2 separate regions of the Homo sapiens genome follow, and region 1 is linked to region 2. The links are contacts of gene promoters, found by promoter capture Hi-C in blood cells and fetal thymus (Javierre and others, 2016). All regions are on one chromosome and are shown on one strand. Each heading gives the region's core, a stretch centred on a gene start or on the middle of the fragment in contact. The rest is flanking DNA. Distances are from core to core; before and after follow the strand shown.

Evidence for each region. Contacts are between HindIII fragments. The CHiCAGO score rates a contact against its expected background, and 5 or more counts as called.
Region 1: the fragment with the promoter of PRSS37 here is called in contact with the fragment with the promoter of MGAM2 in region 2 in 2 of 17 cell types (monocytes and M0 macrophages); the score reaches 13.6 in monocytes.

The regions. Positions count from the first base shown.
Region 1 is chr7:141,839,006-141,845,749 of GRCh38, forward strand. It overlaps PRSS37 (serine protease 37), which reads right to left and starts at 2,480. Exons shown (of 5, transcript NM_001008270.3): 1 at 2,011-2,480; 2 at 333-474. The coding sequence starts at 2,044. The HindIII fragment of the contact is 13,045 bases long and covers 1-6,744 here.
Region 2 is chr7:142,108,174-142,114,755 of GRCh38, forward strand. MGAM2 (maltase-glucoamylase 2 (putative)) reads left to right here and starts at 3,545. Exons shown (of 48, transcript NM_001293626.2): 1 at 3,545-3,634. The HindIII fragment of the contact is 17,675 bases long and covers 146-6,582 here.

The DNA of each region.
Region 1 (6,744 bases), core at 1,230-3,729, 270 kb before region 2:
TGCCAGTAAAAAAAAAAAAAGAAAAAAACTTATGAGAGTCTGAGGAGGCATAACATGTAACACAGGGTTCCTCAACAGTGGCACTATTGCTGTTCTGGGCTGGACAAATCTTTATTGTGGGGACTGTGCTGTGAATTGTAGGATGTTAAACAGCATCTTTGCTCTAGCCTCTCCCCATTAGATGCCAATAGCACTGCCCCCTGGTTGTGACAACCAAAAATATCTTCAGACATTGCCAAGTGTACCCTGTAGAGAAGTTACCCTTATATGAGAACCACTGATCTAGAATGAACAGTAGCTGTTTTGGGGATGGGGATGCCCAAATACTCAACGGTAAATAGCAGTGAGCTGGGGCCAGCACCCAGCTGGGTTTGATGAGGACGCCCACACAGGGGTTGAAGTGAGACTTGAGGTACACCAAATAGGGAGCAGGGTCTTCTTTCTGAACAGATGAGTCAGCAAAGAAAAATGTCCCTGAGAAAATAATGAACATTCTTAATACATAAATATTATAAAAATAAGGTAACAGTCTCTTACTTGAAAAGGAATCTGGATGATTCTTAAACAGTTATCAGTTGGCCAAGAAGTGTTAACGTATTTGACATGTTTTTCTAATAAAAATGTAAATTAAAACGATATGCCATTTTATCTTATATTTATAATAATTTTGTTTAATATTGATAATATTCAATCTAAGAGAGTATAATGAGAGACACTCATCACTGCTAGTAAATTGATTCCATCTTCTTGAAAAGCAATTTAGAAACAGGCATCAAGAATCATAAATTGTTTATAACCTGTGACCTAATCATTCCAACCCCAAGAATCCATTCTAAAGAAAAAAATCAGATATAGACAAGGATTACAAACAAGTATGCTCATGTTAGCTATAACAGCTGAACACTGGAAACATAAATATCTGACATAGTAATGTTGGACATTGAAGCACATCAAAAAGTGGAACATCATATATAATAAAAATTAAACTAATTAGAATATTAAACAGCAAAAGAATATTAATGCTTATTTAAGTTAAAAAGAACAAGAAAATTGTGGATATAATCTATTTGTCTAAAAACAAATAAATAAAAACATTTAAATGCAAAAAATATATAGATTCTGAGAGTAAACTCAAAGTGTTAGCATGTGTTGACTAAGAGGTGGGATTATGAATGATGCTTATTTTTCTACTTTAAAAATGTCTAAATTTTGTAATATGAACATATATTGTTTTTATAAATGAATTATTTAAAACATACCCTAGAGAATAAAGGGGAGGAAGGCTGATTCTAGTATCAGAAATAAAGCCCTCTTCTTGTCTTGGCTTCTCTTGCTACTCCTGTTAACCTTCCCCAAGACTGGGTCTGTACCTCACCACACCCTTCTGTGTGATCACACAGTTAGAAACCCCAAAGAGAAAAGGGTAGACTGTAAACAAGGGCAAGAGACATTGAGCTCTCTATAGCAGGCATTGTTCTAAGTGCTTTACATAGATTTATTTAATCTTCACAATAGCTCTATAATATGGGTAGTCATACCCCCATTTTGAAGAAATTGAAGCACAGAAGAGTTAATTAACTTGGCTAATCTCACACAGCTAATGTGTGATACAACCTAGGCAGTCAGAGAATGGTGGGAAATGCCTCATCTGCAAATTCTGCTGTCAGAAGAACCCCATGTGGGGCAAGGACTACAGAAGGTAGGGTCCTAGTACTTGATCTTTTGTTTCTACTTCTCTGTTTTCTGCATTAGTGTCGGTGGGAGGACACTCACTGTTAAGCCTTCTCCAAGGCACATGTGTGCCTTAACCCACCCTATAGCTTAACACTAGAAAAGTGGGCTCAGCCTATCCGGAGAGCCTTTGGATGGAGTCTGAGAGGCAGGACTCCTAATTCTGCTGATGACACTATTTTTGACTCTTTTTCTGCACCCTTCGCAATCCTGCCTCTGTCTCACCCCATCCATTAAACTGTGCCTTACAGGACAGAGTACAAGGTCTTGAGTACATACCAGCGAGGACACCCAAATAGAAGACATATTTCATGGTGATCCAGCTCTTCCCCCTGTGAGATGTAGAAGAAAATCAGCAGAGTGTGGAGCGGTTGGCTTAGTTGTCTTCTCAGGAACACCTGGTAGACTCAGTGGCTATGGTTAGATACGGAGGCACTCCATGGGATTGGAAAGCAGCTCTGGGCATAAACAGGGGAGGGAGATGGCTTCAGAGAGACAGATGAAAGCCCTCTGTTCCAGGGAAGGTGGAGGACTGTGCCTCTGTTGGGGCATTTCAGGGAAGGAAACTCCTGGATTCAGCTCCTTCTATCTGCTGCCCCTAAAAACACATCTGTTTGAAGGTAGTTCAGTTGTCTGTGGAAATGGCAGCTCTAGGCTCAGGACTTATCTTCCCCACAGAGTTTCTGAGACCAGGGCTATGAGGGACAATATTCTTTACCTTAGCTCAGGGAGTAAGTGTCCTGAGGTTTGCTCTGAACCTCCTAATAGTTACTTATACTTTCCCCAGCCCCTCCCATCTTTGTTACACTAGCTTCATATGTCCCTCTGATCACTGTTTCATCACTCAGTCATCATCACCAACTTGGTGTTTTTTGTCCTGAGCAACAGCATTGAGCCAAGAAAATATGGAAATGAAAAGCATTCATAGAACAGTTATCTTGATAGTTGGGGAATTGTTTACAGTCTAGATGACATTAGGCCTGGTGACAATTCAGAAGGCAGTACCTCTAATACTTAAAGACTTAGACCAATATTAGACTACCAAAGTCATCCTTGGATAATTGGGAGCATAGTCTAACAAGAAAATGAGCGGTAACACTAATAGCTGATATCCTCTAAGCATTTACTGAATCCTAGGCACTGAGCTAAGATCTTTACGGACTTGTCAGTAGAGATTTTATATCAGGTTAGTCTGAGATGTAAAATTCACTACACTTTGTATCACTCTAACCCTTTAAAGTTTCTTAAACCCATAATCTCTTTCCAAATGTCACAACAACCCTAGAAAGAAGAGATAGGGCTGGGTCTGGTATCTATTTCTGGTCTGTGGGTGGCAGAACTGAAGCAGAGAGAATCTAAGTAGTTTTCCCAAAGTCACATGTCGTGGACAATGAGAAATAGGCCTTGTCACTGGTGTAGGGTTGCAGGTCCCCCACCAGGATACTTAAGGGTGTATGACCACTGCTTGAACCTTAATGGCTAAGTAGTGAGTCAAGGACACGGTGCCCAGCCAAGAAGCAGGTATCCTTGATGGCCAAGTGGTGAGTCAACGCCATGGTGTCCAGCTGAGGAGCAGGTGTCCTTGAGTACCCAAACATCCCAGAGAATACCTGAGAACCTATCAAGGAAAACAGTCCCATCATGCACACACAGTAGGCAAAGAGCCAGAAAATTAGCTTAAAAGCAGCTTAGAGATGGAAAGCAGGGCAGGTCTCTAAAGGTGTCCTCTGCTATCTAGGAGTGTCTCATATGTAAGTCCTAATAAACTTATCCACTGGCCAAGCTGGACTTGTCTGAGTCATTCTTTGGTCTCTTGGCTCCCTCCTAGTTTGGGGGAAAGGTTTTTTTAAAAATATGATTCTGGATTTTTCTTGTTACAATTGGCATCACAAATGGGGTCAGAGAGACCAAACTTCGAGCCAGGAATGAGTGTCTATGGTGGGGAATCCCTGGGCAGTCGGCAATGTCCATGTGGAGTGGAGTTGCCCAACTGCACAACTTTTGTGGGCCACTGCATGAGTACAGGGATGCTTGGAAAACATGGGCAAGGACTGAATACCTATTGCCAAGAAGCCAAGATATTAAAGTATGATAATGATAGTAAATGTGGTGTTATTGCAATAAGGCTGGCTAATCACAAATCATTAGAGCAGGAAAGGGAGAAAGGGTAGAAACTCCAGCAGAAGCTAAAAGGCATGGTTTTCTAATCCTCCAGCTGGTTACATATTATGGCCCTTTCTTGTGTACATTTTAAAACTGACGGGCAAATTACAACAAGAAAAATTCAGAGCTCAAATGTTTAATCTACAACTATAGAGTTAAGTAGAGTCTTCTAAAGCTCTCTATTTCTCTTTCCTTTTCTGCCTGCTTTGAATCTACTGTTAATAAGTTACTGGTATTGAGATAAAACTCACTAATTCAAGGTCAATTTGAGATTTTTTTTTTCCTCATATGGTTCAGCCAGTTCTAGCTAAAATGTAAAGAATTAAACTCATTTGGAACTGAAAAAAAATGGATAAAGGAGGTTTTTAAAAATCAAACTGCCATAGAAACTGCTTTACCCAAATTATTGATCCACTGCTTTCCTTGGGTTACCTATTGGGGCAAATAAAGTTTAGCCATGTGAACAGGTCCCAATTTTATCAAAAATAATCTGGATCCAGCTGTCTTTTATATAGTAATGAGTTTGTGAAGCTAGAATTCCAAAAGCTATTGGTAAAAGCTATCGGATCTTGCATGTATATGTATAAACATGTTTAAATGTGTTATGTGTATGTGCATGTATTATGCTATGTGTTATATCTAGCATGGTACCGAATAGCTTATAAGTAAATACGTACTCATAAATTAAATAAGTCCAGATGCTCTTCAGGTTCACGTGAATTCAATAATCTTTGGTGAATAAGCTGGCTTCAAAATTTTTGATAAAATAAAAGTAGAAATGTCTTCAAAAGTGTCAGCATACATTTTTGTCTGAGTTTCTTGATTAGATAAGTTGTATATTTGCCCCTCCTAGATAGTTTAAGGTGTCAGGTTTCTGACATGAAGGTTCTAAGACTATAAATCCACCCAAAACAGAATGATCTTTGTGTGATTTTTTTGATAAGCAAGATTAATTTGATATTGTCAGTTTAATTAAAACAGCTGAATTTTCTGAGTTATTGGTAAAAATGCTTATGTCTTTAAGTTTCTTGATTAGACGAACATCTGATATTTATAAGCCATTAAAATGGTTAACAGGGAAATAACTCGTAATGATTATTAGCTTTGTCTAATAAGTCTAATGAGCTTTCGTTCTCATGAGTAATCCAGATAAACCACTAAAAATGAATAAATTCAGTAAATGTAAATGAGATAAACATAGGTAAAACTTTTTGTGTAGTTTAAAATCTTAAAATTATTTTAGCTACTCATTGAATGTCTGGGTCATTTCCAGTTTAGAAAGGGTTATGATATGAGACATTGGTTGCAGTTCTTTTGCCATTTAGTGGAAAATGGAATCTATGATATGGGGGAAGCATTGGTGGATCTCAGTGGGCTGGATAAGAGCAAGGACTAAATTCAGAAAGTAATCACTTGTCCCAGCACAGGCAGGCAGTGAATGTAAAACAATACTGCCTGCCAGGGGCACACTCTGAAATCATCAGAACAATTTAGGCATTCCATAAGGTACAAATAGGCTGGCCCAGAGCCCCTGTAACAGCCCTGGGTAGCCTGTGAAGACACCAGATGGCACCTGCAAAATGTTGGCAGGCTACCATGAGCTAAACAAAGTGTTGCTCCCTGTATATGCAGCTGCTGAACTACTAGAACAAGTGGTCCTCAAGCTGGGAAATGTCCATCCTGTGACTGACTTGTCTAATGGCTTTTCCAGTATCCCTTTAGCAGAAGATTCACAAGGTCAGTTTGTCTTCACTTAGGAGGGCCAACAATGGACTTTCCAGGTGCTAACACAAGGGTACCTGCACAGCTCCACCATCTGTCACAGCATGGTTGCATGGAACCTGTCTAGGCCCTGTTTGCCTGCCTCAATCTCCCTGTTTCACTATATTAATGATATCATGCTAACCTCAGAGTCTCTTACAGATCTGGAGACTGCTCTACAAACTGTCTTGGATACCCTAAAAGACAGGTGATGAGAAGTCAGCCCCCAAAAGATAAAGGAGCCTGGCATAACTGTCAAGTTCCTGAGAGTTACCTGGTAGGGTAAGACGTGAAACATAAGCTAGCACAGCAGCCTGTTCCCTAGATGGTAAACTAACACCAGGTGTTCTTAGGTTTACTGGGCTACTGGAGAATATTGATTCCTCATCTGGCACAAACCCTCTGCCCATTATACACCCTCATAAAGAAAAATAAACAATGGGACTGGACATACATGGAGCAAGAGGCATCTGACAAGACAAAAATATTGGTGAAACAAGTGCAAGCAATAGGGTCCCCACTGCCACAGCACCCTTTTGTGTTAGAATTCACTAAAGATGCCATGGGGATGATTTGGGGTTTGTGATAAAAGCAACCAATGTGAATGGTACCTGTAGGATTTTGGTCTCAATTATGAAAGAGTGCAGGACCTACTGTATAGTCCTCGAGCAACAGCTGTTGGCCATGTATAGGGCATTGCATGAAGTGGAGGCCATCACCAGGAAGCAGACTATCACACTAAAAACTGCCTACACCATAAAAGGATGAATGGAAGGCCTTGTAGCCAACACCATCTCTGGGGTAGCACAGTCACACACCCTACAAAAATGGCACACCTATCTGCAACAGAGGGGTGTCTCATCCACTAGTCTTTTAAGTCAAGCACTACAGGAGGTGCTCAGACCCATCCACTTTGAACAACTGGAGGGGTTTGACATGACAGTGGGGCCACCTACTACGCCAATCACTGTATATAAGGGGACCCTGCCCGTAACTGCTAGGACCTGCTACACTGGTGGGTTTAACAAAGGCAGCCAGCACCAATGGTCAACAGTTGTAGCGCAAATGAACCTTGATACCTTATGGATA
Region 2 (6,582 bases), core at 2,295-4,794:
GATTTCCTCTTTCTTTTACCAATCACCTGCTAATCCCAGAATCCACCCCCTAAGTCTTTTCTGATAAAAATACTTCCTTAAAGCCAGCACAGGAAGACAGGTTTGAGCTGGACTCCTGTGTCCTGTGAGTCGACTTTGCAATAAAAGCTTTTCTTCGAAACCCTTTATCAGAGTATTGGCTTCTAGCGCATCGAAGAGTGAGCCCTTTCGCTCAATAATACCCCCAGAGGTTGTTCCTCAGATCACAGTCTGAGAACCACCTCTCATGGAACCATATCCATTTGTGGCCATCCCAGAGCAGCCCCTACAACATGGACCTATGCTTACAACTCCTGGCCAGCTATTCAGGAAGAGGCTGGGGGCCTTCCTTTTCCACATATGCTCTGTTTTTTAGATCACATAATTTTGCTTTCTTCATAGGTGTGCCAAAATAAAAAAAAAAACACTCTCAAACTCTTTCACTTAAATAGGAAGACATCTATTCCTTTCTTATTAATGTTATAACATTAAATGTCATATATACCTGCAAAGATAAGGTTATGTTGGCCGTGGCAGATGTCTTCAAGATCTCATCAATATTTCTTTGTTCTTGTCATAGCGGCAGAGTCACTGAGAGTTTTGCATCTGGCCTTGGAGAAAGGTGTTCTGGAAGTTAAGGGTGACTCATATTACTAGTTTCTGATCTGATGATTCCAACCAGCAGCTTGCTGTGACAACTGTTTGAGTTCCGCCAATAGCTAACTTTGCCGTGCCTTGTTACCGATAGACAACTGGAAGATGTCGGGTCACGTGCCTGTCTCTACCCTTCAAAGTGGCTCTGTTATTTTCTCATTGGTCAACACCAGTATGGTGATTCAATATCTTCCAGTTACTAGTTAGCAAGAATGGAAGGTGAAGGTAGCTATTTTCTGCACTTTAGGAAACAGGTTATAGATTAGCTGGGCCTGTTGGTTACCACTATTAACATAAATGAAGTCACAAATGTGCATGGCATGTGGGGAGTTAAAGGTAAAATATCACACAAAAAATAGATCTTATGTAACAATAAAATCTCCCTTCTTGACCTTTTGCCAGGATGTCTTCCCAATTTGAAATGAGATCTTGGTACATTTCCCCTCTAACAAAGGCCACCTTGTACTGGGGCAAATGAAAAGCTGAATATGTCATTCCAGCAGTTCATAAATGCAGAAACCGAGTCTCTCTTTCTCTCTCTCTCTCTCTGTCCCTCCCTCTCTCTCTCTCACTTTCTCTCTCTCTCTCCGTGTGTGTGTGTATGTGTGCTTTTCCACATACTGAGCATTTGAAGCAAACACAAAAGATTCACTACTGTGAACACTGTTATTTACAGTTCTTAGGTGCCACCAAAAGAGCTCTCTGTACCCTCATATATTACTGGCAGGAATGGGGGTGTAAAATGGTGCTGCCACATTAGAAAGCAGTTTTGCAGTTCTTCAAAAAGTTAAAGACTTGTCACATGACCCATGATTCCACTCCTAGGTATATTCCAGGCAGAATTTTAAAACGTGTCAGCTCATAGCAGCATCGTTCATAACAGGCAAAAAGTATCAACAACCTAGATGTATATCAGCTGATACATGCCTAAACAAAATGTGGTCTATCCACGCAGTGGATACTATCCAGACATGGAAAGGAACAGACACTGATACCTGAAATGGTGTGGATGAACTTTGAAAATATCATGCCAAGTAAAAGAAGCCAGACACAGATGGCCACATATTGTATTACTGCATTTATATGAAATGTTCACAATAGGCAAATCCATAAGGACAGAAAGTAGGTTAGTGGCTGCAGAAACAGGGGGAGATGGGAATGGGGAGTGACCACTAATTATTTTTGGGGGTGGCAAAAATGTTCTGGAATTAGATAGTGGTGATAGTTTCAGAATTTTGTAAATATATTTTTAAAAACACTGAATTGTATACTTTAAAAGAGTGAATCTTATGGTTTGGAAATTATATGTCAATTTAAAAATCCACTTTAGCTGGCTTAAGAAAAATTTTAAAAAGATATTGGTGACTCATTGAAACTCCGGTAGGACTAGAGAGTCAGGTTTGTAGGCCATGTGGCTAGGGACAAGCCCCAGGTTACCCTGTAGCGGTTTCTACTGCCACTGCCCTGAGCACATATCTGGCAGCTCGCAACCCCAAATACTGAGCATAGGATGCCACTAGGTCTCTTGTCCCTGCTGCCTCTGAAACGAGCTATGCTTCCAACATCCTGGATTTTACATGGTACCTCCTTATCTACACCTTCTTCTGGATGTAAGTCACTCACAGGAATATCTCATTCACAAAGCTCCAGCCACTTGCCTCTACCTTGGATGAAAGAAAGGCTGTGAAAGAGAATTTCTAGCTGTTTCTTTGGGGAGGCAGAATTTGGAGAAAAAGTCCTTAAGTTGATTTAAGTAAGAGGTTTTCTTTTTCTTTTTAAAGAAAGATCCTCCGTTTTTAAATTTTTTTCAACTTTTATTTTAGATTCAGGGTCTAAGATTCAGGGTGCATATACAGGTTCATTTCAAGGGTATATTGTGTGATGCTGAGGTTTGGGGTGTGATTGAACCTGTCACCTAGGTAGTGAGTATAGTACCCAATAGGTAGTGTTACTACCTTTGTCTCCCTCCCCACCTCCCCCATCTTAGCAAGAGGTTTTGAAAGATGCTGAGCCATCGAAGAACATGACAAATGTCCACTAGAGGCATCTTCCCACTTTAGGTTTGTATACATTCTTTCTCTTTTATTTTTTTTGAGATGGAGTTTTGCTCTCGTTGTCCAGGCTGGAGTGCAATAGGGCAATCTCAACTCACTGCCAGCTCCACCTCCTGAGTTCAAGCGATTCTCCTGCCTCAGCCTCCTGGGTAGCTGGGATTACAGCCGCCTGCCACCATGCCTGGCTGTGCAGATGGGGTTTCACCACGTTGGCCAGGCTGGTCTCAAACTCCTGACCTCAGGTGATCCGCCCACCTCGGCCTCCCAACGTGCTGGGATTACAGGTGTGAGCCACTGCACCTGGACGGGTTTGTATAATTGCTACTTTAATGGTACTTCACTATTTAGAATAATTGGTGGAAAGGATCATTTGAATTAATGAAAAGCTGAGTTATACCAAGAGAACTCTGGAGGATGAAAATGGAGAAAAGAACAAAGTGATGAACTAAGAGCTAATCCTTCTTTCACTTACTTATTAAATAAATAGCTATATATTTAAAAAGAACTATGGATATTGGGCAGAGTGCTAAGCACAGGAGATACAACAGTGAAGAAGATAGACAAGACCCTAGCTCTTGAGCCCTTTAGGCTACATGTATAGATGAGGAAACATAACGTGACAAGTAATCAGATATGAACAGGGATACAGAAGAGGGACAATGAGTAGAAAAAAAACCACCTTCCCCTTTTATTAACAAAAGGAGCTTTCATTCTGTGTCACATGGAGAACAAGCGTTCTTTTATGACCTATTGGAATATGCACTCCCCTCCTCCAGTTGCTGTCAACTTTATAAGGCAATAAATTAATTGTGGCAGAAGCTGGCTACCTCAGCCCAGTTACCTTTGCTCAGTGCTCCCTATGAATTGCTGAGGGAGAGATACAGCATAGAAAAAAACAAGGTGATGCGGTGAGTACGCTTCTCCATGCAAGCAGGGCTTTGAACAAGGGCAGGAAGGTCCCTTTCTTTTTGTGTGATTTTCTGTCTGCTGCTCTGTTAAGTGATCTGGATGCCCATGTTTTCCTTCTGGACTTAATATTTTCTTCCTTTTCCATAAAATATGAGGAGTGAGGATGAGATAGTTGATGGAGAGGAGAGACTGTGTGTGTGTGTGTGTGTGTGTGTGTGTGTGTGTGTGTGTGTGTGGTGTCAGTGTTTGGAGGACAGGTTGGGGGAGGTCTGGTGTGAGATCCTCCTCTCTCACTGGGAGAAATTAAGGACAGAGGAAACAGATGGGATCCTTCTGGAAACTATCTCAAGATGGCATGGATTTGGAGGAAGGTGAATTCCTCCCAGCTTTGGGCAGGAAGGGTTTCTAAGTAGGCAAGAATTTCTACCTTTAGGAATCCCCATCCTGTCCTCTGCCTGAATGACAATAGCTCCTAAGGCAGGAAAATACCCAGGGTTATTCCCAGAGCGTTCCTGTACTTCCTGAGCTAAGGTGCTGAACCTGCTCCCTCAGGAGGATTGAGGAGCTGTGGAGTAGGTCCCTGCTGCTGATTTTTAGAAGCTAGAAAGAAAAAAGTCTCCCTGTGGAGAGAAATAATACTTGCAGAAAGAGACCAATTGATGAATAATGCCTTTGCTGTGGTATTGAGTTGTGGGCTGTATGTATAAGAAACGAAGTTTGATACCATAGCACTCTTAGGGTAGGTCCTTCCTACTTCTTTCTCTACCTGAAATTCCACCATTGGAGACCGATCCTCTAAGTCTTTAAGCTCTGCAGCCTAGGATACATTGTCGAGAGAGTATTCAAGTACTATTTTAAAAAGTAGCGGCTCTCGGTGTTTGTCTCAGTTCCACCACTAACCGTGACTAGACAAAATTTCTTAATATTCATCTATAAAATGGAAATCATGATATCTGTCTGATCAGCTTCAATGCAGGGATTTTATGAGAATACAGTCATATGATATATATTTTATAGGGATTAGAGTATATCTTTTAAATAATTTAGACTAAAAGAGAGACAACTGATTAATTTAGGTAAATAGTAAAGAATAGTTAATAAACCTCAATTTTAATCCCAAACCTCGTGTCTCCAAGGGCTAAGGGTTCTTCCTAAATGCCTGTTGGCAAATTACCTGTAGGTCCTAGTTCCTTACCTCTATTTCAATATTAAAGTGCTTCTTTTATGGAATTATTACACATTAACCTAAAGGCTACTGTAATTAAAAATTGAAGCTATATACCTATATAAAAATATTTGTAGAAATGGTCGTGGCATTGGGGAGGAGTTGAGAAGAGCAGGGAGGCAGGGAAATGAAAAGTAAGAGGAGATGCAAAATCAACATAAAAATAAGAGAGAGAACAGTCTTTGTCCCTGCTGACTTATATTTAATAGCTTGTTGCTGCATAAGTGCTGGTTTAGTATGGTGGGAATATGGGGAGAGGAGACGCTGAGCAGCTGGGGTTAGGACGTGCCATGAAGACCTTTGATCACAAAGCTAAAGGGTTTTTGGTTTATTCAGAGATCCATTAAAGGCTTGAATATAGGAGATCCAAATGACCCTGTTTGTGCTGGTCACTTGGGTAATGACCCAAAGATACCGGGAAAGTAGTCTGACTGAACTGTTAACTGGCTGTGAGAACTAACAGAATGAGAGGAATTAAAAAAAGATTCCTAGGTTTTTTTTTTATAATGTGATTCTATTCCTCAAGTTATTAATTATTTGAAGAACAGATAATTTGGCCAAATTGGCAGGAACTGGGAGTGAGGTGTGGGGAGAGATGATTTCATGTTTAAACATGTTAAATCTTATTGAATCTGTGGGACATCCAATAGGCAGTTGAATATATGAATCTAAATCCCTGGGCTAGAAATACAGGTTGGATTGCCATCACATGTCATATAAAGTCACATGAGTGGTGGAGATTACCCAACGTGTCTGCGTAGTTTAAAAAAGAAGCCTATACCAGAATTTGGGGGGCATCAACATTTAATGAAATAGGGCTGAGCGTGGTGCCTCACGCAGGTAATCCTAGCATTTTGGGAGGCCAAGGCGGGCGGATCACCTGAGGTTAGGAGTTCAAGACCAACCTGGCCAACATGGTGAAACCCTGTCTCTACAAAAATATAAAAATTAGCTGGGCATGATGGCGGGTGCCTGTAGTCCTAGCTACTCGCGGGGCTGAGGCGGGAGAATCACTTGAACCTGGGTGGCGGAGGTTGCGGTGAGCCGAGATCGCGCCACTGCACTCCAGCCAGGGCAACAGAGCGAGACTCCATCTCAAAAAAAGAAAGAAAGAAAGAAGGAAAGAAAGAAAGAAAGAAAGAAAGAAAGAAAGAAAGAAAGAAAGAAAGAAAGAAAGAAAGAGAGAAAGAAAGAAAGAAATAGGAGACTACAAAGAATATTGAAGATAAGCCAGAAATAGAGGTGGAAAGCCAAGATTCCTATCAAGGAATCCATATGTGGAAAGTTTCATGGAGGAGAAAGTGGTTAAGTGATTAAGACAGCGCCCATTGTATTCAGCCACTATGTCACTAGTAACCTCGGTGGGAGCATTTCCAGTGGAATGCAGAAAACACAGCCAAGCCAATAACACATGAGGAAGGGAATACAGAAAGTGTGGAACTATCGTTTTGGAAGATTGGCACTGGAAAGAAAAAGAATGTTATTATGCTACCTGCAGAAGCACACAGAGTCATTAACAGAGTTTGGGGTGACTTGGGGTATATTTATGAAGGAAAGATATTCAGAGAGTGAATTTGATAATGCAAGACAATAAGAGATAATTGGTGGAATGAAATTTTTGAGAAATTCAACAGCTGTGAGATCTAGATAACAGATACAAGGATTATGCTTAAACAAGAAGAGGAAAAACTGTTTCATTGAGAATAGAGGGGGAAAAATAAG